Linked DNA regions of Homo sapiens: regions 2, 3, 4, 5, 6 and 7 are each linked to region 1. The links are contacts of gene promoters, found by promoter capture Hi-C in blood cells and fetal thymus (Javierre and others, 2016). All regions are on one chromosome and are shown on one strand. Each heading gives the region's core, a stretch centred on a gene start or on the middle of the fragment in contact. The rest is flanking DNA. Distances are from core to core; before and after follow the strand shown. Region 1 holds the start of LPIN3 (lipin 3). Region 2 has its middle 90 kb from the start of TOP1. Region 3 holds the start of LOC100128988 (a long non-coding RNA gene). Region 4 overlaps LOC100128988 (a long non-coding RNA gene). Region 5 overlaps LOC100128988 (a long non-coding RNA gene). Region 6 overlaps TOP1 (DNA topoisomerase I). Region 7 overlaps TOP1 (DNA topoisomerase I).

The links. Contacts are between HindIII fragments. The CHiCAGO score rates a contact against its expected background, and 5 or more counts as called.
Region 2: a contact is called between a fragment that was not itself captured here and the fragment with the promoter of LPIN3 in region 1, in 1 of 17 cell types (naive CD4 T cells). The highest score is 5.3, in naive CD4 T cells.
Region 3: a fragment that was not itself captured here is called in contact with the fragment with the promoter of LPIN3 in region 1 in 11 of 17 cell types (total CD4 T cells, naive CD8 T cells, total CD8 T cells and 8 more); the score reaches 13.6 in total CD4 T cells.
Region 4: a fragment that was not itself captured here is called in contact with the fragment with the promoter of LPIN3 in region 1 in 1 of 17 cell types (activated CD4 T cells); the score reaches 5.6 in activated CD4 T cells.
Region 5: a contact is called between a fragment that was not itself captured here and the fragment with the promoter of LPIN3 in region 1, in 3 of 17 cell types (naive CD8 T cells, naive CD4 T cells and non-activated CD4 T cells). The highest score is 7.3, in naive CD8 T cells.
Region 6: a contact is called between a fragment that was not itself captured here and the fragment with the promoter of LPIN3 in region 1, in 1 of 17 cell types (naive CD4 T cells). The highest score is 5.1, in naive CD4 T cells.
Region 7: a contact is called between a fragment that was not itself captured here and the fragment with the promoter of LPIN3 in region 1, in 3 of 17 cell types (naive CD4 T cells, activated CD4 T cells and total CD4 T cells). The highest score is 6.9, in naive CD4 T cells.

What each region holds. Positions count from the first base shown.
Region 1 is chr20:41,339,146-41,342,836 of GRCh38, forward strand. It overlaps LPIN3 (lipin 3), which reads left to right and starts at 1,676. Exons shown (of 20, transcript NM_022896.3): 1 at 1,676-1,857. RefSeq lists an enhancer at 1,288-1,337 and a silencer at 1,498-1,657. The HindIII fragment of the contact is 12,951 bases long and covers 1-3,691 here.
Region 2 is chr20:40,936,582-40,940,272 of GRCh38, forward strand. No RefSeq gene overlaps it. Among named protein-coding and RNA genes, the nearest start is that of TOP1, 90 kb to the right of the region's middle. The HindIII fragment of the contact is 4,726 bases long and covers 1-3,691 here.
Region 3 is chr20:40,978,815-40,982,505 of GRCh38, forward strand. LOC100128988 (a long non-coding RNA gene) reads left to right here and starts at 1,899. Exons shown (of 3, transcript NR_145525.1): 1 at 1,899-2,107. The HindIII fragment of the contact is 1,567 bases long and covers 779-2,345 here.
Region 4 is chr20:40,996,815-41,000,505 of GRCh38, forward strand. The region is part of intron 1 of LOC100128988 (a long non-coding RNA gene); the gene reads left to right. The region is part of intron 1 of LOC105372621 (a long non-coding RNA gene); the gene reads right to left. Among named protein-coding and RNA genes, the nearest start is that of TOP1, 30 kb to the right of the region's middle. RefSeq lists an enhancer at 197-771. The HindIII fragment of the contact is 2,534 bases long and covers 511-3,044 here.
Region 5 is chr20:41,013,620-41,017,310 of GRCh38, forward strand. The region is part of intron 2 of LOC100128988 (a long non-coding RNA gene); the gene reads left to right. Among named protein-coding and RNA genes, the nearest start is that of TOP1, 13 kb to the right of the region's middle. The HindIII fragment of the contact is 6,484 bases long and covers 1-3,691 here.
Region 6 is chr20:41,059,842-41,063,532 of GRCh38, forward strand. TOP1 (DNA topoisomerase I) reads left to right here. Exons shown (of 21, transcript NM_003286.4): 3 at 1,553-1,649. Among named protein-coding and RNA genes, the nearest start is that of TOP1, 33 kb to the left of the region's middle. The HindIII fragment of the contact is 554 bases long and covers 1,409-1,962 here.
Region 7 is chr20:41,077,084-41,080,774 of GRCh38, forward strand. TOP1 (DNA topoisomerase I) reads left to right here. Exons shown (of 21, transcript NM_003286.4): 5 at 499-554; 6 at 3,002-3,097. Among named protein-coding and RNA genes, the nearest start is that of TOP1, 50 kb to the left of the region's middle. The HindIII fragment of the contact is 9,236 bases long and covers 1-3,691 here.

The DNA of each region.
Region 1 (3,691 bases), core at 426-2,925:
CAACAACCTTTATATCAACTTTTTTTCCTCTAACAATGAACAATGAAAACAATTTGTGCTCCATCTTTAAAAATGTGTGACACAAAAATTTTTTAAATAAAAATAAATATGTGATAAACATTCCTGAATGCCTAGTGTGTGCCCTGGCGCTGTGCTCTGCATTTAATTTGGATCAGCAGTTCTCAGCCTTGTTTGTACATTACAACCAACTGGAGAGGTTTTTAAACTCCCAGTATCCGGGGCATCAGTATTCGTCTAGGGCACAGTGATTCTAACACACAGTCAAGGTTGAGAACCACTTATTTAATTCATCCTGTAAATCCTCACAATAGAATCCTGCAAGGTAGCTTTTATCACCACCTTTGCCGATGAAATTGAGGCTCAAAGAGGTAAATTGATTTCGGCATCTGTAGCCCCAACCTGTGACCTCTCCTTCCTTCCTTCTCGGGCTCCCTTCAGGGATTTCCTGATGTTACAGAAAATGGTATGTATGACGCTGCCCTCCTGGCCACCTTGACATAGCTCTGCTCCCAACAGGGCTCTTCTGAGATAGCAGCCAGACACTACCTGGGATCAGGACTGATACTAAATGACTTCTGCCAAAATGAGGACAACTGAGGCCAGTCACTTCCAAACAGGTTCTGTCACCCTGAGTCAGAATAATGGCAGCTACCTCTCCTCCTCACCGCCCAGTCGTTTCTAAGCCTGGCTCGTCGCCGTTGCTGCTCCGCCAAGCCTTTCCTCGGTGCCCTCTCTCTTTTAGAACAAATTACTTCATCTCCAGGCCCTTCTCAGGGCAGCTTCTTTGCAGGGGCCATAGGGCGTCGGAAAGGTCTTTGGTCCAGGAAAGCCGCGAGCCACAGATCCAAGAGGAAAAAGCCGTTCCCGGCCCGGGCCTTGCCCAAGGCACGAGAGTAAATGCACCTTCCGCGTGCCTCGGCGCACCTGGGCTCACCTGTCCCCTCCCGCAGTGCCTGCAGACAGGGAGGGAGCGCGGCTGGGCCAGAAGGCTGATCACCGCCTGCCCCCTGCTGGCCAGTGTCAGTATTGAGCCCGCTGCCGCTCGACCAGAACGTCCCAGGGATGGAATGAAGGTGCGGGCATTTATGGAGCGCCTGCTGTTTGTCAGGCGAGGTACTGATAAGCGCTGGAGTGTAAGGATGTACGTGACCTGCTCTCAGAGTTCAAATTTAAATGAAGAGATATACATTAATCAAGTAGTCATTCAAGCAAATATGAAATTACAACTGTGGGCTATGCGAACAGATGACGCGAGGGGCCTGTCCAGTCTGGGAGATACGGGTGGGTTCAGGAAAAGCTGCCCCCAGGAGGGGACGTTTGAGCGCCAGGAGCCGCGCAAAGTCATTTCATGTCATCTCTAAAATCCTGCAAGGCGGCTTTCCCCCTTGACAAAACAGGAAATGGGATCAAATTGAGGAAGGAATTCACCCAAGATCACACAGCAAGCTGGAAGCAAATCTGGGAGGAGCTAGGTCCGCCCCGTTCCGAAATCCACACTTTTCTGGAGGTGGGGCAGGCGGTGGCACAGGGACTTGGGGCGGGGTCTGGTGGGCGGGGCATGAAGTCTGGCCCCGCCCCCGCCTCCGAGGCCAAAGGGCGCCCTGGGCGGGGATCGGAGCAGGGGCGGGGTCTTTCCAGGGAGTGGAGCCTGGGCAGATTGGGGCCTGTGGAGGCCGCACTAGGATCGTAGAAGGAGTGGAGCCGTGCTCTCACCCTGTCTTAGAGGACCCGGAAGCGCCAAGTGACTGAGGGCCGAAGACACTCACCTGTGGAGCCTGTGCACGTAGGTAGAGGCGGCGGCTCTGAGTCCAGGAGCTCCAGTGGGCAGCTCCCCAGGTAGGGCCCAACTCGGGGGGAGAAGAGATGACCCTCTCCCCTCCCGCCCTGCCCATCTGTCCTGCCATCCTACATTCCTTCCTTCCTGTCCGCGGGCCTGGGTCCACCCCTAGCTGTAAGATGGGGACGCAGGGGTGGAGGGACTGGCCTCATTTTGTCCCTTTTTCCCTGGCCCAGCGGCTGCAGGCCCCCTGGACACCCAGAACGTAGAGTCTGGAGAGGAGACGTCGAAACCTCCCAGGGGAGGCTGGCCCAGCTTTACCCCAGCCTGACTGTGTGACCTTGAGGAGGACAGCCACTTTCTCTGGTACCCAGTGTCCTCAGTTGCAAAACAGTGACTGGCCCTTGCCCTGCTTGCCCTGAGACTGGGCAGATCAGATGCTGTAGCTGCTGGGGGCTGGGGTGGCGCTTTCTCTCTACTGGGGCACTAGGAGTGCTTACTCTCCTGCTCCCTCTGGTCCTCGGTGGAGAGCCACACCCTTCATCCACCCAAACCTGGGAGCCCCGAGGGCTGAGAGCCTAGTCCTAGGGCAGCTTGCTCTGGCTTCCCTGTGCTAGAGTTGTAGTCTAGCCTGGAAGGCCTGTGAACATCCCCAAGGTGGGGTGTGAGGCCTACGTGGAGTGCACATGCTCGTTTTGCAAATAGTGGTGCCACCATTGTGCATGGCCTTGAGTGCCAAGTTAAGAAGTCCAAACTCCGCTGGGCGCGGTGGCTCACGCCTGTAATCCCAGCACTTTGGAGACTGAGGCGGGTGGATCATGAGGTCAGGAGATCGAGACCATCCTAACACGGTGAAACCCCGTCTCCACTAAAAATACAAAAAATTAGCCGGGTGTGGTGGCACACGCCTGTAGTCCCAGCTACTCGGGAGGCTGAGGCAGGAGAATTGCTTGAACCCAGCAGGCGGAGCTTGCAGTGAGCCAAAATCATGCCACCGCACTCCAGTCTGGGTGACAGGGCAAGACTCCATCTCAAAAAAATAAATAAATAAAAGAAGTCCAAACTCTCAACTGCTGGCAGGGGCAGTTCATCAGAGTATGACCTGCAGTGCCCACAGGACCAGCCTGCATGAGTGGGGCTGTCATGATGCTGCTGCTGATAGGTGTACATACAGGTTTTTATTGCATTCCAGGGCTTTACACAAAGTCATTAGTTACTCACACGTGCCTGATGTTATTCCCATTTTGGAGGCTGAGACTGAGGGTCAGAGAGATGAAGTCACTTGCCCATGGTCACAGCTAGCAAATGGCGGAGTGGGGATCAGCACCCAGATAATCTGGTGCCTTTTCTCCTAATGTCCTGTGGCCACCCGTGATCTGGGCATCTGGTTATAAAGTCTTAACCTAGGACAGCTGGAGAAAGGAGGGGCTGGATGAGCAGGAAATTGGGGGAGAAGATTCAGAGGGCTAGGGAGGGAGAGAGGGGTAGTGACTAGTCCTAAGGGGTATTCGGCTTCCTGGGAAGGTGTGAGGAGTGAAGTGGCTGATTTTAGACATGTTAGTTTGTGGGTGGAGGGTGATAGAGGGGAGCCAAGCAGAGCTCTCCTCTGTCTGGAAAAGAACAAGGAGGTAGAGCTGGGTCCTGGGAAAAGGGGGTGCCTAAGGGATAGGTGAAGACAGAGGCGGGCTCACAGAAGGCCCCCAAAATGCTGAGCAGGCAGATGTGGGGGGGCTCACTGGAAGCCCCCAAAATGCTGAGCAGGCAGATGTGGGGGGCTCACAGAAGGCCCCCAAAATGCCGAGCAGGCAGATGTGGGGGACATCCATTGGTGAAGTGGGGGGAACAGAGAGAGGAGAGAATTCTGGACTCCCGTGACATTAGATCTGAGGGAGA
Region 2 (3,691 bases), core at 615-3,114, 400 kb before region 1:
AAATCCTTGTAAGTTTGAGTGAGGCAAAGATTTCTTGTATATGACATCGAATAAGAAAAACAAGTGATAAGTTGGACCTCATTAAAATTAAGAACTATTATTCTTTCAAAGAAGACACTGTTAAGAGAATGAAAAGGAAAGCCATAGGATGGGAAAAAGTGTTTGTAAATGACATATATGATAAAGAATTTATATTCCAAATATACAAAACTATCAAAACTCAATAATAAGCAAAACAGCCCAATATTTTTTAAAATAGGCAAAAATTGTGAATAGACACTTCCCCAAAGAAGATATTGGGATGGCAAATAACCACATGAAAACAAGGTTCGACATCATCACTCCTTAGGGAAATGCAAATTAAAATCACAATGAGATAAAATGAAGTATTCTGTCCCCCACAAAGACTTGTACACATATTTCCACAGCAACATTGGTTGTAATAGCCAAAAGCTGGAAAAAATACAAATGCCATCAACAGGTGAAAGAATCAACAAGAAGCGGTATACCCATACAGTGGGATACTACCCAGCAATTAAAAGGAATGAACTACTGACACATGTAACAATATAGATGAGTCTCAAAGTAATTATAATGAGTTTAAAAGTCAGGCCAAAAATGCATACTGTATAATTTCATTTATATAAAATTCTAGAAAAAGCAAACTAATCTGTAGTGACAGAAAGCAGAGTGGTGGTTCACTAAGGATGAAATACACGGGAGAGGTGGGAGGGGCAGGAGGGAGAATATCAAAGGATCATAAGGAAACATTGGGAAGGGATGGATATGTTTATTTATTATCTTCTGTGTGGTGATGCTCTCCCAGGGGCATAGGCATGTGAAAACTTTTCCAGTTGTGCATTTCAAATACGTGTATTTTATTGTATGTCAATTGTACCTCCATAATGCTATAAAAAAATTAATAGGACTTGTTGATGAACTGGATATGGAGGTGAGAGGGGGAGAAATGTCAGGGATAACCTCCAGGCTTCTGGCTTGAGTCAACTGTTGGATGGAGGGGCAGTTTCCTGACGGGAATGTTCAAAAGAGGACACGGTTAGGGTGCCTTAGCACATGGCAGAGAGGTCAAGAACAGAGTTTTTGAGATGTGAAATTTGATGTCCCATTGAAAATGTACAGAATGTGGTTGTGAATCTGAGCCTGTGGCTGAAAAGAGAGATCATGGTTCAAGAAAAGGAAGAAGGGGCCAGGCACAGTGGCTCACATCTGTAATCCCAACACTTTGGGAAGCCGAGGCGGTCAGATTGATTGAGGTCAGGAGTTTGAGACCAGCCTGGCCAACATGGTAAAACTCTGTCTCTACTAAAAAATACAAAAAATAAAAATTAGCCGGGTGTGGTGGCGCTTGCCTGTAGTGCCAGCTACTCGGGAGGCTGAGGCGGGAGAATTACTTGAACCTGGGAGGCGGAGTTTGCAGTGAGCCAAGACAGCACCACTACACTCCAGCCTGGGCAACAGAACAAAACTTCATCTCAAAAATAAAGGGGGCGAGGCGGGGAGAGGGAACTCATGCAGGGAAAACCGTGAGCCAAGACATGGAGGATGGGAACAAGGGGGAGGAACAGAAAGGGAGTCCTTCACTGGGGTGGGGTTAGGGCAAGAAGCAGTGAGCAGAGAGGGAGCCCCCAGGTGGCTGTGTTGGGACCTGCTGGATTCACAGGGCAGGGAGGATGACAAGCTCTGGGAGTCCTAGAAAGGGATTTGATTTGAGGTGTTGGGACAGGAGAAATGAAGCCATCAGCTTTAGAGCTGCCACATCCCGTTGGGACATTCCACAGGGAGCTGGATCCTGGGATCTGGATGACCAAGGAGAGATGTGGTGCAGAGAGGGATCTAGGGCTTCCCTGGCAAGAGTATGTTGGCCCAGGAGGAGTGGGGGTGGTGGAAGAGAAAGATAGAGATGCAGGAGCTCTCAGAGAAGCCCCAGGAGAGTACGTGAGAATGGAGACGGCATCAGGCTAGGGGCAAAGTAGGGTGACAGCCAGACCCACGAAGTCCCCAGAGGTCTTACAGGAACATCTCAGGGCAAGGACCCAGAGCAGTGTGTGCCAAGGGCTGGTCACCAGAGCTGAAAAGGGAGATAGCCTTGGAAGGAGGGAGATGTGCTGGTCCCTACAAGGCTCTGGCATATACATCTCCTCACTGAGTGCTCACAACTCCTTTATGAGATCACCGTAATCATCTGCATTGCACAGACAAGAAAACTGAGAATCAGAGAGGTTAGGAGACTTCTCCCAAGGCCACGAACCTTGTATCTCATCCACATCTGGGGGCTCACACGCTCTTTTTAGGCACTAGGGTGCCCAGAAAAAGGTTCACAGGGGCCACCAAGCACCAACTAATGACCCCCAGGGTGGCTGTGCACAAGCATGTCTGAGGCAGTTAGATGAAGGAGGGAGCGCAGCTAATTGCCCGTACAAATTAACTCTAATGTGGTCGGCATCGACATACTTATCTTTCTTTAATTACATTAATCAATTAATGAAGAAGATGGCTTCCTCTTATTATGATTTCCAAGGCCCATATGTTCTCGGGAGTCCAGCTGGAGTTGGGCTTCTTCTCTGTCCCTGGCTTGAATGGAGAACTGAGTGACATCAATAAGAGAAATTGTCCCCCAGGCCTTCTCCACCCTGAAGCTGATCTTCAAGATGGGAGAGGTAAGAAAACAGAAGCAATGATCCCCGGAAATGGTAACCAATGGGAGAGGCCTAAACTCCTTGACTCAGCATTCAAGGCCCTTCTCCAACATTGTTCATGGTTCCTTTGACCCAGGTTTATCAGCCTGGGCAGACTGATTTTCTCTGAGCTGCCCTTGCATCCTCCAGCGTCCAATGCATTCATGCCATTTCCTCTACCAGGAAGGCCAGCTCCCATCAGTCAGGGTCCAGGTCAGTCCAGTGGGTTTGTCACCTCCTCATGAGAACCCTATAGAAGGCCTACCCTGCAGTAATCTCCTTCACTTGTTAATTTTTTTCAGCTTTATTTAGGTATAATTGACAAATTAAAATTGCATACTTTTAAGATATATAACTGGATGTTTGATATACATACACATTATGAAATGATTACCACAATCAAGCTAAGTACCATACCCATCACCTCACTTGGTTACCATTTTCTTTTCTTTTTTTTCCTCTGTGTATGTGTGTGTGGTGAGAACACTTAACATCTACCCTCCCAGCAAGTTTCAAATATGCAATATAGCATTGGTCACTATAGTCGCCCGGCTCTACATTAACTCTCCAGAACTTGTTCATCTGGCATAACTGAGACTTGGTACCCCTTAACCAACATCTACCCCCAGCCCCGGGCAGCCACCATTCTACTCCCTCCTTCTATGTGTTCGGCTGTTTTAGATTCCACATGTTAGCGAAATCTTACAGTGTTTGTCTTTCTGTGTCTGACATTTCACTTAGCATAATGCCTTCCAGGTTCATTCATGTTGTTGGGAATGACAAGATTTTCTTCTTTTATAAGTTTGAATAATAATTCACATTTATTATTCACATTTTCTTTATCCATTTATCTATTGACAGACATTTAGGTTGTTTTCATATCTTAACTACTGTGAATATTGGTACAGCCATAATGGAAGACAGTATGGAGGGTCCTCAAAACATTAAAAATAGAGCTACCATATGATCCAGCAATCCCACTTATGGGTGTATAA
Region 3 (3,691 bases), core at 312-2,811, 360 kb before region 1:
ATCTATCTGAAAGATCACATATCTCTGTCTCTCCAGGATTGGTCCCCACGGGCTTATTTAGTTTGTTTGGTGATGCCATGTTTTCCCGGATGGTCTTGATGCTTGTGGATGTTTGTCAGTGACTGTGCATTTAACAGTTAGGTATCTGTTGTACTCTTCACAGTCTGGGTTTGTTTGTACTTGCCTTTCTTGTGGACAGGTACAAACAAGCCCAGACTGTGAAGGACAAGTATTGTGGAAGGACAAGGCTTTCCACGTATTCAAAGGGACTTGGGTGTTGTGATCTAAGTGTTTGGTCACTGCAAATGCATCTGCATTAAGGGACACCCCAAGCCCAGTAATGCTGTGGTTCTTGCAGAGTTGCAGAGGTACCACTTTGGTAGCCTTGGATAAGATCCAGAAGAATTCTCTGGATTACTAGAGATTCTTGTTCTCTTCCCTTACTTTCTTCCAAACAAATGGAGACTTTCTCTCTCTCTCTCTCTCTCTGTGCTGTGCTGCCTAGAGCTGGGGGAGAAGTGACACAAGCACACCTGTGGTCACCATCACTGGGACTGCGCTGGGTCAGACCTGAAGCCAGTGCAGCATTAGGTCTTGCCCAAGGCCTGCTGTAACTGCCACCTGGCTACTGCCTATGTTTGCTCAAGGCCCTAGGGTTCTACAATCAGGAGGTGGCAAAGCCAGCCAGGCTTATGTCCGTCCCTTCAAGGCACCCAGTTCCCCCAGGCCCCAAGCAGGTGCAGAGATACTGTCTGGGAGCCAGAGACTGGAGTCAAAAAGCTTAGAAATCTACCTGCTGTTCTATTCTACTGCAGCTGAGCTGGCACTCAAACCACGAGACATAATCCTTCCCACACTTCCCTCCCACTTCCATAAGCAGAGGGGCCTCAACCTGTGGCCATCACCACGACAGGCCCATAGGACTACTGCCAGTCTACCACCAACGTTCACTGAAGACCCAAGGGCTCTTCAGTCGGCTTGTAGTGAATGTTGCCAGGCCTGGGACTCATCCTTCAGGGCAGTGGGTTTCCTTCCCACCCAGAGCAGGTCCAGAAATGGCATCTAAAAGGCAAGGCCTGAAACCAGGGACCCCAAGAACCCTCTTTATGGTCTAGTCTACTGTGGCTGAGCTAGTATCTAAGGTATAAGACAAAGTCCCCTTTACTTTTTCCTCTGCTTTACTCAAGCAAGTGTTCTCACTATGGTTCTCACCATAGCCACCACAGCTGGAAATGTGCTGGGTCTCACCTGAAGCCAACATGTCTCAGAGTCTCAACCAAGGCCTATGGTAGATACCAGGGTATCGCTGCTGGTTCTTCAAGGTCCCAGGACTCTTTAATCAGCAGGTAATGAATCCTGCCAGGACTGAGTCCTTCCCTTCAAAGCAGTAGGCTCCCTCCTAGCCTAGGGTGTGTCTAGAAATATCATCCAGGAGCTAGGCCCTGGAATGGGGACCTTATGACCCTAACTGGTACCCTATCCTACTGTGGCTGAGCTGGCATCCAAGATGCAAGACAAAGTCCTCTTTACTCTTCCCTCTCCTCTCCTCAAGTGGAAGGAGCTTGCACAGCTGCAAGCTGTGCTACCTGGAGTTGGGGGGAGGGTGGTGCAAGTACTCCCTTAGCTGCCTCAGCTAGTGTCTCAGTAGGTCATGTGCCCCCACCATGTCCACTGACTCTGAGCCCAGCTCAGCACTAGGACTTGCCTAGGAACTGCAGTCCTTGTGACCTTGACTGCCATTCAAGTTTATTTACAACCCAGAGCATTTTACCCCCATGGTGGTAAGGCTTGCTGAAACTCAAGTTCCATCCACTGGGTTGGGCAATTCCCTTGGGCAATTACCCTCTGGCTAGGGCTGGTCTAAATACTCTCTCCATCATCAGCTGTCAGCTGAGTTCAGTTCGGTTTTGCTTTCACTGTGACAAAGCAGCATCAAATTCAATGCAATGTCTCACAATAGCTGCGCTCTCCCTCTTCCAAGCACAGAGATTCTCTCTCTACGCCACAAAGCCACTGCCATGGGATGGGGACAGGTGGCATCAGCAACTCAAGACTGTCTTCCCTACCCTCTTCATTGCCTCTTTCAACAGTATGAAGTTAAAATCAGGTACTGTGAGTGCTCATCCAATTGTTGGTTCTTATGATGAAGGTGCTTTTTTGTGTGTAGATAGTTGTTAAATTTTATGTTCCTGTGGGGGATGGGGAGATGGAGCCTTCTATTCAGCCATCTTGCTCCACCTCCTACAACGGCAGTCCCCAACCCCCTGGCCATGGACTGGTACTGGTCTGTGGCCTGTTAGGAACCACGCTGCACAGCAGGAGGTGAGCAGCAGACAAGCAAGTGAAGCTTCATCTGTATTTACAGCCACTACCCATTTCTCATTACCGCCTGAGCTGCACCTCCCATCATATCAGTGGCAGCATTAGATTCTTATGGGAGTGCGAACCTTATTGTGAACCGTGCATGCAAGGGATATAGTTGCGGGCTCCTTGTGAGAATCTAATGCCTGATGATCTATCACTGTCTCCCATCATCCCCAGATGGGACCATCTAGTTGCGGGAAAACAAGCTAGGGCTCCCACTGATTCTACATTATGAAGAATTGTATAATTATTTCATTATCTATTACAATGTAATAATAATAGAAATAAAGTGTATAATAAGTGCAATGTGCTTGAATCATCCCAAAACCATCCCTTACCCCAATCTGTGGAAAACTGTCTTCCACAAAACCGGTCCTTGATGCCAAAAAGCTTGGGGACCACTGCCCTACAAGACCACTTTTAAAATAGGAATAATGGGAAGACCATATTCAAAAAAAAAAAAACTTTTTAAACTGTTTCCAGTAATTATTTTGTTGATGCTATTACTGCTGTCATTTTGAGACCATTGCGTGTGTAATGTGGGATAAGGAAAATAAGCAATTACAGACTGTTTTAATTCTATCATCTCCTGTATTATTGAGGATCTGATTCTCAATATGGAAGAAAGGAGAGATGTAATATAGAAAAGATTAAGTGAAAAACCTAAGTGTGAATTGGAATTATTAGTATGAACACAGGGTGCTATCCTCCTGGTTTCTGGCTGAAAGGTGTGTGTGTGATAAAATATATTTCCTAATGACCAAATCAGTAGCCATCTGCATCCCTAGCATCCAGACAGTGGTCATGAAACCCTATTTTCCATTTAAAAATAAAACGGGGCCCGGCACAGTGGCTCACGCCTGTAATCCCAACACTTTAGGAGGCCAAGGTGGGTGGATTGCTTGAGCCCAGGAGTTCAAGACCAGCCTGGGCAACATGGAGAAACCCCTTCTCTACAGAAAATACAAAAATTAGCTGGGCATATTGGTGCATGCCTGTAGTCCCAGCTACTCAGGAGGCTGAGGTGGGAAGATCAACTGAGCCCAGGAGGTCAAGGCTGCAGTGAGCCGTAATGGCACCACTGCACTCCAGCTTGGGTGACAGAGTGAGACCTCATCTCAAAAAATATATAAAAATAAAAGGACTTGTAGTCAGTTAATATTTATTCAGTATTTCAATCTTGTAAATATAAATATTTACAAGTAGGTTTCACTGTCCTCTCCTGATGGATGACAAAGGGAAAACACAGAGAAGAAAGCAGTTTTCTCAGGGCCACACAGCTGCTAAACTGCCCAGCTGGGCTTGAAACCCAAGTGAGGTTCATCTG
Region 4 (3,691 bases), core at 528-3,027, 340 kb before region 1:
TCAATGCCTAGGAATCGCACAGAATGAGACAAATATACTCAATGTGCCTCCTGGTATAGGTACACAATATTACCTATGAAGCATTCTTGCTAAAAACACTTAACCTGACTTTATTAAGATACTAGTCACATGAACTAGAAGTCAGAGGAATGTGTTAGATCAGCGGTCCCCAACCTTTTTGGCACTAGGGACCATGCCGTAGAAGACAATTTTTGGGCTAGAAGACAGTTTTTCCACAGACAAGGGAGGGAGTCAGGATGAAACATAGAAGACGATTTTTCATAGACTATTTTTTCCACAGACAAGGGAAGGGGTCAGGATGAAATTGTTCTAACTCAGATCATCAGGCATTACTTAGACTCTCATAAGAAGCATGCAACCTAGATCACTCACATGCGCAGTTCACAAGAGTTCGCACTCCTATGAGAATCAAATGCTGCTGCTGATCAGACAGGAAGCAGAGCTCAGGTGGTAATTCGAGCGATGGGGAGCAGCTGTAAATACAAATGAAGCTTCGCTCAGTGGCCCACCACTCACCTCCTGCTGTGTGGCCTGTTAGGAATCAGGCCGAGGACCAGTACAAAGGATTGGGGACTCATGTGTTAGATGACACCACAGGGATGCAATCCACAAACCAGAAGATAGAAGACTCTACAAGATAAATGCCATATATATATATATATATATATATATTTTTTTTTTTTTTTTTTTTTTTTTTTTGAGACAGGGTCTCACTCTGTGGCCTAGGCTGGAGTGCAGTGGTGCAATCTCCGCTCACTACAACCTCCACCTCCCAGGTTCAAGTGATTCTCCTGCCTCAGCCTCCCAAGTAGCTAGGACTACAGGCATGTGCCACCACACCTGGCTAATTTTGTTGTTGCTTTTGTTTGTTGTTTGGGGGGGGGGGTGTTGGTTGTGGTGGTGTTTTTATTTGTTTGTTTGTTTTTTGGTAGCAACGGGTTTTCACCATGTTGACCAGTCTGGTCTTGAACTCCTGACCTCAAGTGATCCACCAGCCTCAGCCTCCTAAAATGCTGAGATTACAAGCATGAGCCACCCTGCCCAGCCTCTTATTTCTTCAATAAACGAACTGAAGACAGAGCAAGGGAAAATCTCTCCAATCCTGCTTATTCCACCTTCCACACTTAAAAAAGAGAGAAAGGGAGAGCCTAAAGGGTAAAAGAGACTTAATTATTACCAATCAGTGGATTGTGTGGACCTTGTTTGGATCTTGTTTCAAATAAACACATTACATGCAACAATTGGGTATACACACACACACACACACACATAGACATATATATATATATATATATATTTTTTTTTTTTTTTTGAGACAGAGTGTAGTTCTGTTGCCCAGGCTGGAGTGCAGTGGCACCATCTCGGCTCACTGCAACCTCTGCCTCCCGTGTAGCTGAGACCACGGGTGCATGCCGCCATGCCCGGCTAATTTCTGTATTTTTAGTAGAGACAGGGTTTCGCCATATTGGCCAGACTGGTCTTGAACTTCCGACCTTAAGTGATCCTCCCGTCTCGGCTTCCCAAAGTGCTGGGATTACAGGCATGAGCCACCGTGCCTGGCCAATTCAGTATATTTAAACATGGACTGGATATTGGATTATATTAAGAATTGTTGTTGGTTTTTTTTGGTGTAATAATAATAATTGTGGCTACATGTTTAAAGTTCCTTTTTTAGAGCGACATGGAGAAATGTTTACTGATGAAATGATATGATGTTTGAGATCTGCACAGAAATTATTCCATAAAGGAGAGAGTAGATGGGCATATAATTAAAGAAGTTTATCTGGCCGGGCGCGGTGGCTTACACCTGTAATCCCAGCACTTTGGGAGGCCGAGGCAGGTGGATCATGAGGTCATGAGATCGAGACCATCCTGGCTAACATGGTGAAACCCCGTCTCTACTAAAAATACAAAAAAAAAAAAAATTAGCTGGGCATGGTGGGGGGGCGCCTGTAGTCCCAGCTACTCAGGAGACTGAGGCAGGAGAATGGCATGAACCCGGGAGGCGGAGTTTGCAGTGAGCTGAGATCGCACCACTGCACTCCAGCCTGGGCGACAGAGCAAGACTCCGTCTCAAAAAAAAAGTTTACCCATAAGTTGATCACTTTAAGTTGGGTGATGAGTATGTAAGGGTTCATTACATTATTCTCTTTACTTTTGTAAATGCTTAAAATTTCCCATACTAAAGAGGAGAAAAAGCTAATATTTGCTTATTTTCATACTTTCTGCACTTCTGCTATAAAAACCACCTCCAAGGCCAAAGGAACCAGAGAAATGTGATAAGATAAAAGGCATTATACAAAAAAAGAAATACATTGGCTAGTACTTCAAACTACTTAGAAACAGATGTATAGACCAATGAAACAGAATAGAGAGAACAGAAATAAATCCCTACAACTACAGCCAACTCATTTTTCAACAAAGGTGCAAACAACACACATCGGGGGAAAGGACAGTGTCATCAATACATGGTGCCAGGAAAATTGGGTATTTATATGCAAAAAAATTAAACTAGACCCCTACCTTTCACCATATACAAAAATCAACTCAAAATGGATTAAACACTTAGATCTAAGATCCAAAACTATGAAACTCTACTAGAAGAAAACATGGGGACACATTTTTTGACATTGTTTTGGACAAGGGTTTTTTAGATAAGCCCTCAAAAGCACAGGCATAGGCTGGGTGCAGTGGCTCATGCCTGTAATCCCAGAACTTTGGGAGGCCAAGGTGGGCGGATCACGTGAGGTCCGGAGTTCGAGACCAGCCTGGCCAACATGGCGAAAACCTGTCTTTGCTAAAAATACAAAAACTAGCTGGTGGTAGTGACATACACTTGTAGTCCCAGCTACTCTCAGAAGGTTGAGGCAGGAAAATCGCTCGAACTCGGAAGGTGGCGGTTGCAGTGAGCTGAGAGCACACCACTGCACTCCAGCCTGGACGACAGAACAAGACTCTGTCTCAAAAATAAAGTACAGGCATCAAAAGCAAACATAGACAAATGGAATTACATCAAACTGAAAAGCTTCTGCACAAAAAAACAACGCATGAAGAGATAACACACAGAGTGGGAGAAAATATTTGCAAACTATACATCTGGTTAATATCCAGAATATATAAGTAACTCAGACAACTCAATAGCAATAAACAAAAACAAAAACAAAAAACAAACCAAATAGTCCAATTTTAAAGTGGAAAAAAGACCTGAATAGACATTTCTCAAAATAAGAGTTACAAATGGCCAACAGATATTTGAAAGAATGCTCAACATCACTAGTCATCAGGGAAATGCAAATCAAATCCATAAACAGATATCATCTCACTCCAGTTAGAACCATTATTATCAAAAAGACAAAAGACGAGTGTTGGCGAGGATGCAGACAAAAGGGAACCCTTACACGCTGTTGGTGGAACTGTAAATTAGTACAGCTGTTGTAGAAAACAGTATGGAGGTTCCCCCCAAAATTAAAAATGGAACTACCATATGATCCAGGAATCCAACTACTAGGTATACATCTAAAAGAAATAGGCTGGGCCCAGTGGCTCATGCCTGTAATCCCAGCACTTTGGGAGGCCGTGACAGGTGGATCTTGAGGCCAGGAGTTTGAGACCAGCCTGGCCAACATGGTAAAACCTTGTCTCTACTACAAATACAAAAGATTAGCTGGGT
Region 5 (3,691 bases), core at 623-3,122, 330 kb before region 1:
TGAGGAAATGGATAATGAGAGTGCAGTATGATAGGTGCTGAGACTGGGGCCATGCGCAAGTTGCTATAGGAACAGAGGAAAAGGGCACTCATACTTCCCCAAGCCTGTCTTCTTTTTATTTATTTATTTATTTATTTATTTATTTATCATTTGAGACAGAGTTTTGCTCTTTAGCCTAGGCTGGAGTGAATGGTGTGATCTGGGCTCACTGCAACCTCCACCTCCCAGGTTCAAGCCATTCTCCTGCCTCAGCCTCCCAAATAGCTGGGATTACAGGTGTGAACCACCACGTCCAGCTAATTTTTATATTTTTAATAGAGACGAGGTGTCGCCATGTTGGCCAGGCTGGTCTCAAACTCCTGATCTCAGGTGATCCACCCGCCTTGGCCTCCTAAAGTGCTAGGATTATAGGCGTGAGCTACCACACTCAGCCTTAAGCCTCAATCTTCTTATCTGCAAAGTGGGAATCATGGCCGGGTGCGGTGGCTCACACCTGTAATCCCAGCACTTTGGGAGGCCGAGGAGTGTGGATCACCTGAGGTCAGGAGTTCCAGAACAGCCTGGCCAACATGGAGAAATCCCATCTCTACTAAAAACACAAAAAAATTAGCTGGGCGTGTTGGCTCGCACCTGTGATCTCAGCTGCTCGGGAGGCTGGGGCAGGAGAATCACTTGAACCCAGGAAGCAGAGGTCACAGTGAGCCAAGATTGTGCCATTGCACTCCAGCCTGGGCAACAAGAACGAAACTCCATCTCAAAAAAAAAAAAATGGGAACCATGTTATTCACTATAAGGAGTTTTCTGGTACATTCCAGGCCTCTGCTTGACACATATTAGGAGCCCGTTGCAGCCCATAATTCATTTATTCAACAAATGTTAATTGAGTATCTTATGTGTGTCAGGCACTTCTGTGGATGGTAGAAATGTGGCACTAAATAAACTGAGAAAGCCGGGCACGGTGGCTCATGCCTGTAATCCTAGCACTTTGGGATATCAAAGCAGAACACCTTTAAGCTCAGGAGTTCGAGACCAATCTGGGCGACATAGGAAGACTCTGTGTCTACAAAATATAAACAATTAGCTGAGCATGTTGGTGCACACCTGTAGCCCCAGCTGCTCAGCAGGCTGAAGTGGGAAGATTGTTTGAGTCTAGGAGGTCAAGGCTGCAGTGAGTCATGGTTGTACTGCTGTACTCCAGCCTGGGTGACAAAATAATATTATTTTTGTCTCAAAAATAATAAATAAATAAATAAACTGATAAGAATTGCTGCTGTCATCAAGATTACATACTACACGGGGAAAACAATAAGTAAAATATTCCGTAGGCCAAATGGTGACAAGTGCATTGGAGACAAATAAAGCAGGGATGGAAAGAGGGAAGAACTGAGGGAAGGGGGTTGTAATTTTAAATAGAGTAGTCAGGGCCTGTCTTAGTTTAGCAAGGATCTGAAAGAAGAGAGGCACTAGGCCATGGAGATATCTGGAGGAAGGACGTTCGAGGTAGAAAGATCCACAAATGAAAGGGCTAATGCTGGAGAATGAGTGGTGTGTGATAGGCTTTTACAGAGCCCAGAGTGGCTGGAAAGAGGTGACCAAGGTGTACAGCACCAGCAGATGAGGTCAAGGGAGGCCTTGGAGGGGAGCAGGTGTGGCAGAGCCTTGGGGCCATTGTAAGTCTTTGACTTTACCCTGAATGAGATGGGAGCCACTGGAGAGTTTTGCGCAGAAGAGTGACAGGATCTTACGTTTTGTTTTGTTTTGTTTTGTTTTGTTTTGTTTTGTTTTGTTTTGTTTCAGGAAAGAGTCTCACTCTATTGACCAGGCTGGAGTGCAATGGTGCAATCTTGACTCACTGCAACCTCTGCCTCCTGAGTTTAAGCAATTCTCCTCCCTCAGCCTCCCAAGTAGCTGAGATTACAGACATGTGCCACCATGCCTGGCTAATTTTGTATTTTTAGTAGAGACGGGGTTTCACCATGTTGGTCAGGCTGGTCTCGAACTCCTGACCTCAGGTGATCCACCCGCCTCAGCCTCCCAAAGTGCTGGGATTACAGGCATGAGCCACCGCACCCGACCTTCTTCTTTCTTTCTTTCTTTTTTTTTTTTTTCTTGAGATGGAGTCTCACTCTGTGGCCCAGGCTGGAGTGCAGTGGTGCAATCTCTGCTCACTGCAGCCTCAGCCTCCTAGGTTTAAGCAATTCACCCTGCCTCAGCCTCCCAAATAGCTGGGACTACAGGCGCCCGCCACCACGCCTGGCTAAATTTTTTGTGTATTTAGTGGAGATGGGGTTTCACCATGTTGGCCAGGCTGGTCTCGAATTCCTGACCTCAGGTGACCTGCCCACCTCAGCCTCCCAAAGTGCTGGGATTACAGGTGTGAGCCACTGTGCCCAGCCCTTTTTCTTTTCTTTTCTTTTCTTTTCTTTTTTTTTAACTGACAAGGTCTCCTCTGTCACCCAGGCTGGAGTGCAGTGGTATGATCATAGCTCACTGCAGCCTCAAACTACTGGGCTTGAGATCCTTCTGCCTCAGCCTCCTGAATAACTGGGACTAGAAGCATGTGCCACCAGGCCCAGCTAAATTTTTAAAAATGTTCGTTGAAATAGTATCTCACTGTTGCCCAGGATGATCTTGAACTCCTGGCTCTAAGTCATCCTCCTACCTTGGCCTCTGAACGTGCTGAGATTACAGGCGTGAGCCACCATGCCTGGCCAGGATCTCAAGTCTTAAATAGGACCACTCTGTTTTAAAGGATCACTTGTTCTGACTATATACCATGAGATGACAAACATAGAGCAGAGGACACCAGTTAGGAGACTCCCACATTAAACCAGGTGGAGATGATGGCAATTTGGGCTAAAGTGAAAGCAAAGGGCATGGTGAGAAATGGTTAACATCAGGATATTTGAAGGTGAAGTCAACAGGATTTGTTGACAAATTGGATAAGGGGGAGTAGGCAGGCAAAACAGAGTCAAGGATGCGGGGCGTGGTGGCTCACGCCTGTAATCCCAGCACCTTGGGAGGCTGAGGTGGGCAGATCGACAGGTCAGGAGTTCGAGACAAGCCTGACCAATATGGTGAAACCCTGTCTCTACTAAAAATACAAAAATTAGCTGGGCATGGTGGTGTGCAACTGTAGTCCCAGCTACTCAGGAGGCTGAGACAGAAGAATTGCTTGAACCTGGGAGGCGGAGGTTGCAGTGAGCCGAGATGTTGCCACTGCGCTCCAGCCTGGGCAACAGAGTGAGACTCTGTCTCAAAAAAAAAAAAAAAATAGTCAAGGATGACCTGAGCCATTAACTATGATTGGGGAAGACCAAAGGAGGAACAGGCTTGAGAGGAAAGATAGAGGGTTGATTTGGGACACATTATGTTTAAGAAGCCTGTTGGAAGTCCAAATAGGAATATTAGGTAGGCAGCTGGATACATAAGTTTGACACCTGGGGGCAAGGCCCTGATTTTAGGTATGAACTTAGAACTTCTCAGTATATAGTTGGTATTTAAAGCCACAGGAGTGAATAAGATAGTGAATCAAGAGGACAAAGGAAAAAGGTCTGAGGATTGAGCCCAGGGGCTATCCAACATCCAGCAGTGGGGGCCTCACCTGCTTTTAATTTGGGGGTTCGAAGGCTAGGTTTGAACATTCTGTAAGGACTTGTGCAAATATTTTCCCTAAGTTCTGTCTCCCCCT
Region 6 (3,691 bases), core at 436-2,935, 280 kb before region 1:
AGGTAGTAAGAAGACCAAGAAAGATTTGAGCAGATACTTCACCAAAGAAGGTATATGAGAGGCCAACAAGCACACCAAAAGATGCTTGTCATTAAACATCATTTAATCATCAGAAATATGTGAATTGAAACCACAGTGAGGTACCACTCCACACGTGCTAGAATGGCTAAAATTAAAGACTGATAGCAGATATTGGTGAAAATTTGTAGCAATTGGAATGCTAATGAATTTTTGATGGAGATATACAATGGTACAATTTGGCAATTTCCTGTAAAGTTAAACATACATTTTTTATATTACCCAGTAACTTTTCTCCTAAGTATGTACCCAAGAGAAATGAAAACATGTCTATAGAAATATTTGTATATGAATGTTTGTAGCAGATAAATAATAACCAATGCCTGGAAACAACTAAATTGTCCAGCAGGTGAATGGGTAAGTTACAGTATATCCACACAATGTAACACCACTCAGCAATAAAATGGAACCAACAACTGATATATCCAACAATGTGGATGAATGTCACAAATGTTATGCTGAGAGAAAGACATCAGACACAAAAAGAATAAATCCTATATGATGTTATTTACATGAAATCTAGAAATCTAGACAAATCTAATATACAGCACGATCAGATCAGTGCTTCCTTTGGGCAAGGGGTGGAAGATGGGGAATGACTGGGAAGGAGCACGAGGGAAACTTTCTGAGATGATGGACTTGTTCTAAATCTTTATTGTAGTGGGGATTGCACCTGTGGGTGTCTTTGAAATGTTTATTATTACAGTTATTTCTTAATATTTGTAGGGGATTGGTTCCAGGACCACCCCACCCCCTGTCCCTAGTATACCAAAATTTGCAGATGTTCAAGTTTTTTTGTATATAAAATGGCACAGTATTTGCATATAACCTACACAATCCTTATATATACTTTAACTCACCACCACATTACTTAGATTACCTAATACAGTGTAACTATATAAATAGTTGTTATATTGTGGGGGGATTTGTATTTTTTTGGTTGTATTGTTATTACTATTTTTATTTTTCCTTGAATATTTTCAGTCTGCAAATGGTTGAATCTATGGTGCTGAACCTGTAGATATGGAGGGCTGATTGTATTTTATTGTTTAGACATTACACCTTATTAACATTCATTTAAAAACATCTGTTGAGGTTTGGATTTTTCAGAAGTTATAACATCTGATCTTTAGAGTCAGTGTTCAATACTATCCCTTTGTTATCATTTATAGGTCAGGCTTAATAGTATTATGTCTAGGGAGAAAAACGCCAAACTGTGGCTTCTTTCCACAGAATAATTGGCTCTCATTTCCTTATCCTCCCCATATTAGTAACTTGTCTTGATTGTAGAAGCAGGCTAATGGGAGCTTTGTCTGGGCTTCTTTGTGAAAGCTTTTTTTTTCAGTGGCATGTGCTATTATGCCTACCATGCCATTTGAATCCTGTCATTGTACTTCTTGACCAGCTTGTCAAGGTAGGCATACAGAAGATAGCTCATGACTCCTGTTAACTGACTCATCTCTTATGGTTGCAGATTCTCATAAACACAAAGATAAACACAAAGATCGAGAACACCGGCACAAAGAACACAAGAAGGAGAAGGACCGGGAAAAGTCCAAGCATAGCAACAGGTAAGGGTGGAATCAAGCAAGTCCCTCATCATTCAGCAGTGGGTTGGCCATTGCTTGGCTTACCTGGAATAGGTCTTAACTTGAGCTACATGTAAAGATAGCAAAGTAAGTAGAAACTGTATTTGATCCTAGAGTTGCTATGAGGATGGCCATGATTTAGGCCTTAAATGGGATGCCATTGTTCAGATCAAGATGTATAAAGCAAGTATGTTTAATTTTCTTTTAATATATACCTCATTAAAAATACAGTTGTTCACTAAGATAGGTAAGGATTCATTGTGACACATGATGGCATTTAATCAAGTCTGTAGCAAGCTTGCCTTGATAAAAGGTAACTGGATTGGAGACCTGATTTTTTTTCTTCTTTCTATATTTTAAAGAGTTTACATTAAAAATTCTTAACTTGGGCTTCCATGGTCTGTTAGCCCCTGAAATTATATGCAAATGGTTGAGTATATGAGATTTCCTGGAGAGACTATTTGTAGCTTTCATCATGTTATCAGAGGAGTTCGGCTCCCACAAAAGCCTACAATCACCAATATGAATGAAACTCAATAGTGCTGCCTTTTGGGATGCAAGCCTCAAGAAGATGTTTCTTTTGTTCATTTTGCTCCCATTTTTTTGGTGTAGGAGGCAAGTGGTTAAATCTAGTTATTGAAAATGAGGACTTGTACTTCCATTCTGATTTAAAGACAGTTGTTGGTGAGAAAGCCATATGGTATTCCCATTCCCATAGTGGCCTGAGCTAGGTTAGGGAATGTAAAGATCTGTCACACATTAGAACAAGTGTCTCCATTGTAGAGTTCTTAGAACTTCTTTATTAACTTGTCTGATTGTCTGTAGACAAGTTAAAGTGAGAATTGCTTTCTAAGTCTGTTCTTTTTCGCGAATCATTAAAATAACCAGATTTAATTTTCTCTATTGGGGACATTTCTTTGGGAATCATGTATCATGCCTGTGGCCTTTTTTCCCTATCCCTCACTTATCTCTTATCACTTGATCATCTAGTTTCCATTTTCATTATTCTGGTAAATTTAATCTCAGTAGTTGAATCTACTCTACATCTTTTCTAGTTTATAGTTGTCTAGCTTATGTTAATATCTACCGTACAGCAAAGAATATTGCCAAGGATAAAGAAGTTCATTGCATAATGATAAAAGGGACCCATTAGGAGAACATAGCAGTTATAAATGTTTATCCACTAACGTCACAGCCTCAAAATACATGAAGTAAATCTGATAGAGCTGCAAAGAGAAATAAACATTCATAATTATGGTCAGAGATTTTACTATCTTTCTCAATAATTTTTAGTCCAAATAGAAAATAATTAAGGATATGGAAGACTTGAACAGTATCAACCAACTTGATCTAATCGACATTTATAGGTTTTTCCCATCCAACAATATTAGAATTTTCTCTTTTCTTTCTGTCTACTTTTCCGCTTTTAATTTTTTTCAGGTTTTATTTTAGATTCAGTGGGTACATATAGGCAACTTTGTTACCTGGGTATATAGCTGTGATGCTGAGGTTTGGGTACAAATGATCCTGTCACCCAGGTACTGAGCATAGAACCCAACAATTAGTTTTTCAACCCTTACCGCCCTCTCTGCTCTAGTAGTCTCCAGTGTCTATTATTGCCATCTTTATGTCCATGAGCACCCGATGTTTAGCTCCTGCTTAAAAATGAGACCATGTGGTATTTGGTATTCTGTTCTTGCCTTAATTTGCTCAGGATAATAGCCTCCAGTTGCATCCATGTTGCTACAAAGGACATGATTCAGTTCTTTTTTTATGACCGTATAGTATTCCGTGGTAGATATGTACAACATTTTCTTTATCCAATCCATCATTGCTGGGTACCTAGGTTGATTCCATGTCTTCCCTATTGAGAACAGAGCTGCAGTGAACATGTGTGTACATGTGTCTTTTTAGTAAAATGATTTGTTTTCTTTTGGATACATACCAAGTAATGGGATTGCTGGATCAGAAGGTAGTTGTTTTTTTAAGTTCTTTGAGAAATCTCCAAACTGCTTTCCCTAGTG
Region 7 (3,691 bases), core at 415-2,914, 260 kb before region 1:
TTTGTTTGTTTTTTAAATAAAGATGGGGGTCTCACTGTGTTGGCGGGGCTAGTCTCGAACTCCTGGCCTCAAGCAGTCCTCCAACCTCATCTTCCCAAAGTGTTGGGATTACAGGCATGAGCCATCACATCTGGCCCAGTTTATATGTTTTGTTTGTTTGGTTTTTGCTTTTGTTTCCTCTCTGCACTGCCAATGGCAAATTCTTGAGTAGTGGAATGTATTTATTGGGGAAAAGAGACCTGCCACCACTTAAAAGTAAAAAGCTGCCATTTTTAAGGGAAACCTTTCTCAGTGAGTTGGACAGTTTCACCCAGAAGAATTGTTAAAAACGAGTTTTGGACACATTTCAGGACCTTTAGTTCATCTGTTCAGTTTTGGTAACATAAGAGCCAGCTTGTGATCATGATGTCCCAGGAACTGATGCTACATATTCTCAAAAAGAGGTTTCTTCAAATTTAGTCCTTTCAAGGTACTAGTTACTGTTGTTTTACTTTTCAGGTTCGAGCCTCTGGGGATGCAAAAATAAAGAAGGAGAAGGAAAATGGCTTCTCTAGGTAAGACTTTGCTGCTGCGTGGGCTTCCCTTTCTCTGGGTGGACAGCAGGCCAGCTGCCTGTGTTGTAGTGTTGTCTGAGTTAACCCAAAACCCACTGACCTGGCCATCTTGATGGTTCCCAGAAGCTCAGCAGTGAGAAGACTCGGTCTAAGCCAACCTGAGCCTTTCTACAGTGCCATATAGTGAGACTGACCAGCACATTTTCCAGAAGGTTATTTCGAATAGAGAAGGTTGACAGGAGAGATTTTTAAAAATTGAGATTTGACTTGCATATCACAAAATTTGTATTTTAATGGTATACAGTGTACCATTTTTTTTTTTTTTTTTTTTTTAGTATATTCACAAGGTATTGCAGCCTCTTCACTAATTCCAGAACATTTTCATTTCTCTAAAAAGAAACTTCATATTCAGTAGCGATTATGGAGTTTTCTGAAAAATCACTTAGTCTGATTTCATCATTAGTAATATTGGGAGGCTTATATATAAAAGATCATTTGACCTACATGTTAGGGATGAGTGTAGATTTGGGTAGAATTATGTTATCTCTTTTCTAGAAGGAGAGGAAAATGCGCAAAATCTAGAGGTTACTTCCTATACTGTTTTTACCTTTATAATTTTGTTTTCCTCAGCCTCAATTTCCTAAAATAAGCCCAGAGGTCCCCTCTAGTTTCGAAACAACTAGATGTTTATTGTTACATATTCTCACTTCACTGAATGACAGAAAGGATTTATTAGAAATGGTTGTAAGTGTTTGCATTATTGACTGGGACAAAACACTTTGAGAGTTTTGCTTCCTTGAATCTTTGAACTTTCAGTTTCATTTGTTAAAATTTTTGACAATTGTGCCTGGTACTCTGGGGTCCTTTAGACAAGGAGAAAAGCAGGTGCCCTCTTCAGGCATGTTTCATAATTGTTCTAGGAATGCAGAATAATACAATTCAGGAAGCATTAGAGCTGCAAGCTGCCCTAGGAATTTTGATTTCTGAGATAAAGTGACTGAGGAGGCACTGCTGGGCTAATCTCTGCCAAGAGACTGCCTTGGATTTTTATTAAACTGATATGAATAAATTTTTTGGACTTGGTGCATAGTCATGAATTCATTTTCAGACTTTTTGGGTTAGAAGATTAGGAACACAGCCTTCTTTGAGGCAGTGGTCTCTATGTTCACTTTGCTGGACTCCTTGCTGGCTTGTGTATATGTCTTTGTAGAGAATCCAGATGCTTCACTGGAATACAGTTTTCAGGTAAATTGTTTTAGGACTTCTTCCTTCAGACCTAAGTAACCCTTCCCACAGTTTTTGTCTTCAGTGTGACAAACTTAGGATCTAGCATTTACTTAACTAGTTGGGTAAATGATAGGCTTTCTTTCCTTCTGGACCCTAGGGTCTGTGTCAGTATTCAGGCAGGAGGGGGAACAGCTGTAGAAGCTGGCATTTGGTTAGGGTGCTAAAATAAGTTCTTTAAACATTCAAATTCTATCACAAGCAAGGGGACCCAGTATGCTTTTTTTGGTCGGAGGTACTCTTGAAACCCTGTGAATATACTTTGCAGTGGGGTCGGGATTCTTAATCCTTGGATCCCTCCACAGGGGGCAGCTGCATGTAAGGAGGCCATTTCTTGTACTAAGTTAAGGCAGTGAGGTTCTGAAGAGATGTGCCAGGCCAGGGAGCATCCCATGGCTGCAGTGATTGCTGGGCTCTATGGTGTTTTTTACTTGTTCCTTCTCTGTTTTGGTTCAAGATGTTTGTCTCAAAGGATTGTCTTTTTATATTTATATTTTGAAGGTAAGATCTTAACAAATAGTAGTGAGACACTCTTCTGTATATAAAGTAAACCTAAGTTAGGACGTTGAACAATGAATAGATTTGGCATAGGATACCTTCTGTTTATTCTGGTTTAACACGTGCCCTACTTTTGTTGTAATGTTGTCAGCTTGGTTATTTTTCCATGTAGCTAGATATACATGTACGTTATTGCCACATTTTTAGAACTTTAAGGTACTAAGTTGGGGAAATCAATGTTTATTCCTTTCCTTGTAAAAGCTGTACTTTAGCTTTTAGAGTACTGGAACAATCAGTTCAGATTGTGGGGTCAAATATATGGTAGGTTTCCATGTAAGGCAAGAAAACACCTTAGGTTTATTTCTGGAGTGGTTCGTGCCATGCTGGCAAAGATAGCTAAGAAATAGTGAGAAAGAATTCTGACTTAGAATAAAGAGTCTTGATCCCAAATCCTGATATTGCCCATTCACCTGTACAATGAGGACAAATACTATCTACTTCACAGGATTGAAGTGAGAAAAAGTGCTCACAGAACATCTTCATGATATGTACGTGGTTATCCTTATTTCTGTTAGCTTCTTTTCAACGAAATGACATATTCCTTCTTTGTATTAATAGAATACAGATGTTCTAGCACTCTGACCAGCAATTTTTTTTCTCTTTAGTCCACCACAAATTAAAGATGAACCTGAAGATGATGGCTATTTTGTTCCTCCTAAAGAGGATATAAAGCCATTAAAGAGACCTCGAGATGAGGATGAGTGAGTATTTTCTTAAAACTTTGACTTTTGAAAACAAAAAGGAGGAGTTTAAAGAATAAATGTGATGTGTTTCTTTATAATACATATAGAAACTGCATTAATTGGCTTTTACTCATTTGGAATTTGTGATTAATGGACTGATTTCTCTGAACTATGAGAAGTAGAGTTTGCTAAACAAGTAGTATACCCAAGGCTTACATGAAGATTATATAAATTTTTATTACTGAAAAGGCAATAGATATTTATTGTAGAAATTTCAAATAATACAGAATTCATGAAGAATAAATTATTTAAGTTACTTAAAATTTCTTATTGCCTACCACAGATAACTTAAAGCAGTTTCTCTTAGACCTATTCCTGTCAGACATTCTAAGTGAAGTTTCAGTGTGTAAAAATAATAAAACTGCTCATAAAACGGTCGAGGCTTACATGTATCTCTTTCCCCAGATTCAATGAGATTAAATTATATTCATTATTTTCACTCTTATATAGCTTACTATGCTATTGTTATAGTAGAAATTGGATGGAAAGGGAGAAGGGAAATACTTAGTGAACTCATTTGTATTCATTCAATATAGAATTTCTTTCCTCCAC